2 separate regions of the Homo sapiens genome follow, and region 2 is linked to region 1. The links are contacts of gene promoters, found by promoter capture Hi-C in blood cells and fetal thymus (Javierre and others, 2016). All regions are on one chromosome and are shown on one strand. Each heading gives the region's core, a stretch centred on a gene start or on the middle of the fragment in contact. The rest is flanking DNA. Distances are from core to core; before and after follow the strand shown. Region 1 holds the start of ERVW-1 (endogenous retrovirus group W member 1, envelope). Region 2 has its middle 46 kb from the start of MTERF1.

The links. The method cuts DNA at HindIII sites, captures the fragments that hold promoters and counts their contacts. A CHiCAGO score of 5 or more calls a contact.
Region 2: a contact is called between a fragment that was not itself captured here and the fragment with the promoter of ERVW-1 in region 1, in 2 of 17 cell types (erythroblasts and naive CD8 T cells). The highest score is 6.0, in erythroblasts.

The regions. Positions count from the first base shown.
Region 1 is chr7:92,476,364-92,479,822 of GRCh38, forward strand. ERVW-1 (endogenous retrovirus group W member 1, envelope) reads right to left here and starts at 1,583. Exons shown (of 2, transcript NM_001130925.2): 1 at 1,019-1,583. It also overlaps a transcript of GATAD1 not described here. RefSeq lists enhancers at 267-768, 906-1,825, 1,803-1,947, 1,837-2,267, 1,865-1,896 and 1 more, promoters at 1,473-1,805, 1,512-1,872 and cis regulatory regions at 1,897-1,958, 1,959-2,267. The HindIII fragment of the contact is 16,290 bases long and covers 1-3,459 here.
Region 2 is chr7:91,832,834-91,836,292 of GRCh38, forward strand. No RefSeq gene overlaps it. Among named protein-coding and RNA genes, the nearest start is that of MTERF1, 46 kb to the right of the region's middle. The HindIII fragment of the contact is 1,099 bases long and covers 1,127-2,225 here.

The DNA.
Region 1 (3,459 bases), core at 333-2,832:
CATCTGCGGGTTACTGGGTTAAGGATTTTTGATAGGGAAGCTACGGGTTGTCAATGGCCTCAGTGCTTTCGGCCTATGCTCTTATTTACACTGACCACAAAGTGGATTGGAGTGCTATAGGGTCACAGAGAAGACCTTCAATTATCAAGTACAGGTTTTAAATTTACCCTGGCTTTTAAAGGAATAGGGCACACTGTTTTTTACTATTTCTTTCTCTTTCTTTCTCTCTTTGACTCTCTCTCTCTCCTCTTTGTCTCTCTCTCTCTTCTGTCTCTCTCACTGTCTCTCTCTCCTCTCTGTCTCTCTCTCTTTCTCCTCCATTTCTCTCTCTCTCCTCTGTCTCTCTTTTCCCTCAGCCATTTACAAACTTGGGGCCCTGGCAAGGGTGGTGGGGAGTGGGTCCTACATAACTGCCCATGTCAAGAGCTGTATGCCTAAATTGGGAGGGACACCAGGGATAAGACTCCCTGGGTTATAGCCTAGGTGCCTAAGGACGCAGCGCAGAGCTTCCTTAGATCCCTTTGGAGATACAACTTGCTAGAGGAAATGGAAGTCTGAACCAATAGTACCTAGGAGGCAGGGATCAGAGGAAGTATATTCAGAGGTAAGGAGAATTTTGGGGCTACACTTTGAAGAAAGTTGTGGTTGGGACCCAGGAGGTATGGGTCAGAAGGAAAGATAGGGGTGCATGCATGGGCGACTGTTGAGACTTCTGGCTACACCATGATCTCAACCGGCTACTGCCGGGAGTTCAGGACGACAGCTTTCTGCCTCTAGTCGGCCCTCGGCTTCCCCAAGAAAACTGAAAGTGGAAGCTGGCTTGAGGCAAACCAAGTCCCCAACCCAGAAGGGTTGGGGGTTGTTAGAAAGCCCTTCCCCAGATAGCCTCACACCTGAGTCTTAAGTCCGGTGGCCACACTAATCGTTTTTAACTGGCCGACAAGTGCCCGGTATTTTCCTCCAATTCTAAGGAAGGATAGGACAGAATAGCAAGTGAAAGTGGTCCAATATTACTCACCACTTTGGATGTCCGTTCGTGGTTGCCAAAATGTTACCGGGGGGTCCTTGCTCACAGAGCTCCCAAGATGGTGGTGAACCACTTCCAAGATGGTAGCAGGCCGCTTCCAAGATGGTGGCAAGCCTCGTATTCTCTGACCTGGAGTTCTTGGCCTCACGGATTCCAAGGAATGGAATCTTGGGCCATGTGGTAAGTGTTATAGTTCTATTAGAAGCCGTGGGTCACAGAAGAGAACCATGGAACCCAGTGACTAGTGTTCAGCTCAATTAGAACAAACCCAGGCACTTAGCCGTGCAGGAACAATGGCAAGCCTTTAGCCCAATTGGGAGCGGCAATGGGCGCCTCGCTGGATCAGGAGCACAGCGGACACCCTGCAGGATCCAGAGGGATGGGAGTCAGCGGCAGGTCTGCGGTGGTGGCAAACAGCAGTGGTGGACGGTGAGCAAAAGCTCAGCTCGAGCCGTAAGAAACATGGACCAGAAGAGTGCAGTTGCAAGATTTAATAGAGTGAAATAGCATGAAAACAGCTCCCATACAAAGGGAAGGGACCCAAAGGGGGGCTGCTGTTGCCAGCTCGAATGCCTGGGTTTATATCCCGATTGTTGTCCCTCCTGCTGTGCTCTCAGGCAATAGATGATTGGCTATTTCTTTACCTCCTGTCTTTGCCTAATTAGCATTTTAGTGAGCTCTCTGATTGGTCAGGTGTGAGCTAAGTTGCAAGCCCCGTGTTTAAAGGTGGACGTGGTCACCTTCCCAGCTAGGCTTAGGGATTCTTAGTCGGCCTAGGAAATCCAGCTAGTCCTGTCTCTCAGTTGCAAGATAATTGCTGTATCTCCAGGCGTTTTGCCCTCATCCCAGAAAGGAAGCCCGCCCCAGGGACTTCTGTCTATGTTCACTGTCCAGAACTATGTCACATAGCCACAAATGACTGCAGTGAAGATCATGTGACTCAGTAATTCACTCTCCAGAGAGTATAGGAAGGCAAGAGAGGTGGTGTTGGAATGGATGTTGAATGAATTCATCTATAGGATATACCACAACGTCGGGAATAAGTGGCAGATGTTACAATCGAAATGGGCTGATTATAAGTGGGGATAAGTGGCTCGTGGGGTGGCAGAGGTCAGGCAGTTGCAATATGAGAGGCTAGGTGGATGCAGCTACCATAATCAGCAGTAAAGCCAGCATGTTAATTGCAGTGGTCTGACCTGCAGGGATCTTTGGTGCTGCCTAATTATGGTAATACATAAGTTATTAAGAAATAGTTTTTTGGCAGCTAGAAAGAGTAAAGGTTTTTGGAAATTTTCTTGTAATAAGAAGCAACCCTCACCCATTCCAAACCATTCCTTTTCTAACAGAAAAGACAGCTTAAAGAGCCAGGCCAGCAAACTTTGATATGCAAATGCAGGCTATTAAAAACTAGGTCCACCCAACATGGCCACCATGGCGATTCCCACCCTCTTCTTGTCAGCACATGTACCAAGTGTCATGGCCCCCTCCAGATAATTCATGTGTTTTCAGAACATCATGGCAACCCACATTTGCATATTAAAGGGCTGAGGTGGGAGGGCCAGGTTTTTTGCGGGGTACATGAATGATACACCTGGTCAACCCAATCCCCTGGGCCCTGTGCAAATCAGACACCGCCTCCTCCAGCCTCCCAGTATAATCAACCACTTTTCCACTGCACATGGGGTTTCCTTCTCTCGGCTTGGAGCCCCCTCCCTCTGTGTCTGTACAGGGGAGCCTCTTCCTTCTTTTTTGCGTATTAAACTCTCTGCTCCTTAAAACCACTCCATGTGTGTCCGTGTTGTTGTCACCCCCGTCCCTGTGAAGAGAGTCCACCAAACAGGCTTTGTGTGAGCAACAAGGCTGTTTATTTCACCTGGGTGCAGGCGGGCTGAGTCCAAAAAAGGAGTCAGCTAAGGGAGATGGGGTGGGGCCATTTTATAGGATTTGGGTGGGTAGTGGAGGGGCAGGGGTCACAAGGTGCTCAGTGGGGGAGGTTTTGAGCCAGGAGAAGGAATTTCCCAAGGTTAATTGCTCAGTTAAGGTGGGGCAGGAACAAATCACAGTGGTGGAATGTCATCGGTTAAGGCAGGAACAGGCCATTTTCACTTCTTTTGTGATTCTTCAGTTACTTCAGGCCATCTGGATGTATATGTGCAGGTCACAGGGGATATGATGGCTTGGGCTCAGAGGCCTGACATTGCTGTCTTCTTATATTAATAAGAAAAATAATGTAAAATAGTGTTGAAGTGTTGGGGCAGCAAAAATTTTGGGGGTGGTATGGAGAGATAATGGGCTATGTTTCTCAGGGCTGCTTCGAGAGGGATTATGGGCGGCATGGGAACCTAGAGTGGGAGAGATTAAGCTGAAGGAAGATTTTGTGGTAAGGGGCGATATTGTGGGGTTGTTAGAAGGAGCATTTATTGTATAGAACG
Region 2 (3,459 bases), core at 426-2,925, 640 kb before region 1:
GTCACCTCCAGGTGGTTAAGAGCTTGTGTAACTTCTCCCCATCGTGTCTGAAGGCTGGATGCAGCCAAAATTTCAATGCTTTAGAAGGTAGCAGAATGATTCATTGGATTTGGGATGCCGAGGCGGGCAGATCACCTGAGGTCGGGAGTTCGAGACCAGTCGGACCAACATGGAGTAACTCCATCTCTACTAAAAATACAAAATTAGCTGGGCATGGTGGCACATGCCTGTAGTCCCAGCTACTTGGGAGGCTGAGGCAGGAGAATCGCTTGAACCTGGAAGGCGGAGGTTGTGGTGAGTTGAGATCGAGCCATTGCACTCCAGCCTGGGCAACAAGAGTGAAACTCCGTCTCCACAGAGTAAAGCTCCAACCTGCCCCTGACAACCTGCATCAGGAATGTTTTCCATTTCATTAACACAATTACGGCATTTATAGTTACTCACGGCTTTGTATTTGTGCATGTATATTAATAATATTACCAATTTGTTCTTGAGTTTCTTTTTCCATACTTCAATTTTTATATGGATCATAATAGGAAATAATGGTGGTTTATATGAGTTATCATTTACACGCAAAACAAATTGGAACTGCTAAGGCCAGGATAGTGAATAATAAATTATACACATCTGATACCCTTCAAAGTAATCTTAAATAAGAATGCAATCTTATGTGCAGTTAGTTTAACCTATCTTTCTTGATAGTGGGATTAACTCTTCTCTAAATAAGTAATTTATAAAAGTAACTCAAAAGCCAAGGTCAGTGATATTCACCTGTAATTCCAACTACTTGGGAGGCTGAGGTGGGAGGATCACTTGAGCCCAGGAATTCAAGCCTATAGTGCACAATTGTTGAGTTTGTGAATAGCCACTGCACTCTAGCCTGGGCAATGTAGCGAGACCCTGTCTCTAAAAAATTGTTAGATAAAAAGTAAATGCGACTCAAAGTGAATGCAGTTAATTTATGTTACTGCCTATCTTAAATCCTTACTACCTCCAGGATAAGATCCGAACACCTCAGCATATCATGCTTTCCCTTGCTTATCTCCCTTGCCTCTGTCTCTACTTCCCCAGCCTCTCACACTGAAGCAATTCTGAATTACTCGCAGGTTGTACTTGTAACCTAAAAAGCTTATTTAAAATACAGATGTCTAGAGTCTGGTGCTAAGAGTCTTGTTCAGTAGAGCTGGGGTGGGAAACTAACCTCTACATTTTAATAAATATCTCAGGTGACTCTGATGCAGGTGAATTACAGATCACCTTTTGAGAAATGCTGATGACAACAAATGATAAAAATAATACTAGGAGATGTTTTACATGACAATTTTAATAAGAAAAAAAGCTAAAAATTGCATTTATTTTGATTATTTTTAAATACATAGACTAGTTACTCATTTTATTTATGCAAAAAGTTATAAAAGTAAGTAGGGACACTTCATTTCTAAAATATCTACTGAATTTATTTCTAAGATAATGAGTAAAGCAATTTTCCACTTTGATTAAGAAAAGTACTAATCATTGTAACTTCCACTGCTGTGCTTTTAAAAATTATGAATCTGTATATTCAAAAGTAAAATATTGACTGGATTTGGTGGCTCATGCCTATAATCCCAGCATTTTGGGAGGCTGAGGTGGGAGGTTCGCTTGAGGCCAGGGGTTTGACATTAGCCTGGGCAACACAGCGAGATCCCCTCTCTAAAACAAACAAACAAAAAAGATCAATTTCTATATTTATTAGGCTGATTTGAAAAAAATAATAGTAGTAATATAAATAGATAATATTACCATTTGAATCATCAGGACTAAACAATCATGGGTTATATTTAATAGGGAAAAAACAGTCTCTAGCTGCCACACCTCACAGATAGAGTCAAAGAAAAATTCATTTTTCAAAATTAATTTTAATCAGGAGGATAGTTCCACATACGTGAGTTATTCAATGTCCCATTGCAACTTCTTGACCATTGGTTTAGTTCCCAGAGCTAGACTCGTTTTAGTGAAATTTGGAACCATAGATCTAAACTTTCATATCTTACTTCAATCCACAGTGAGACTTTTTGCAAATCACTCCCCGTCTCTTTTTACACTCCTCATCTATTAAACAGGACTAACAATTGCCAATAACCTTAAGTCTGAAAAAATATATATACTATAATCATATCTCTAACAAAATTTGAGATCTTAGGAATAAATCACTGGATATAAATACAAAATGTAATTATCCTGAAAGCTTTCCCTATTGCAGTATTGGTAGAGTACATATTTCAAACACAAATATTTAAAAAGGTTATTCTCATCATTAACATTAATAAATATTTACTGAGGTGCCTATCGGGTATTTGGCAATGCACTAGTGAGCAATCTTACATCAAGTTTGAAATAGATTCACATTGCAGAGAAATATATAACCTAAATTAGAGTCTCAGAAATTGGAGACTGGCCAGGTTCTCTCCTCTAGGAAAAAAAGAATTCAAACACATGAAGAGCTAACTGAGCACTGGACACAAATATCAACAGCTGAGCTGAACCACTTCCTTGGCTACTAGTCCTACAAGCATCACTCTCAGATTTCTTCTATAAAGAGATACAACCATAATCCACAAGTAACTGAAAGAACACCTCCTCTGAAGTCTGGGACTTTCTTCTCTGAAGTTTCTGAACTACATCAGCTCTTTACCACAGCCCTCTATGCCTGCTGGCCCAAAGAAATCTGTTCTAATAAAACCTCAAGCCTCCCCACTGAGTATCCTCTATTTAGAATTCCAGAGTTGGCTTCTGAGATTAAGAACTCTTTTAACCCATTTGTAAAAATTTAGTCAAGACAGGATATAACATGTTGCACAGTAATTACACCAAGAATTCCGTGTCAAAGGCTCAAAATCTCATTTTACTTTTTATACATCTTGGGACCTGCAAAAGTGACTTCACTTCTCTGGAACTCTTTTCTCTCATCTAGAAAATGTAAAGATGAATACTAACCTGCTTTGATCAAAAGCTTGTTACATGGGGGAAAAAATACATTTGTAAAGGTCTTTGGAAAATACAAAGAGCTATAGAAATGTTAGATAATAAAGGTTTTGTCCAAGCAAGACTGGAATGGCTACTTCTCCTCATTTTGACCTTCTGTTGAACTCACCTTCCTCTTCAGGCTACAAAAGAAGGAACCCTATATTTCCTCTCTAAGGAAGTTTTTAAAATACATTTTAAAATGCCTTTTATATTCATGTTTCAAGTTCTGCTGGAACTGGCTTTTCCCCCCCCATTATATATACAAGATAATGAGGAATTCAGAAGAACCACCTGCTGATGAAAACATTCACAAGCTGGCCTGCTGCCCAGCAAGGATGAGTCCAATCCATAAGCAACTGGAGAAATCTGCCTCCTTTAACACAAGCAGTCGGGTCCCTAATCTTGCATCACAGACTTTAGGCTCTCAGCTCTTAAACAAATTCTCACAGAATG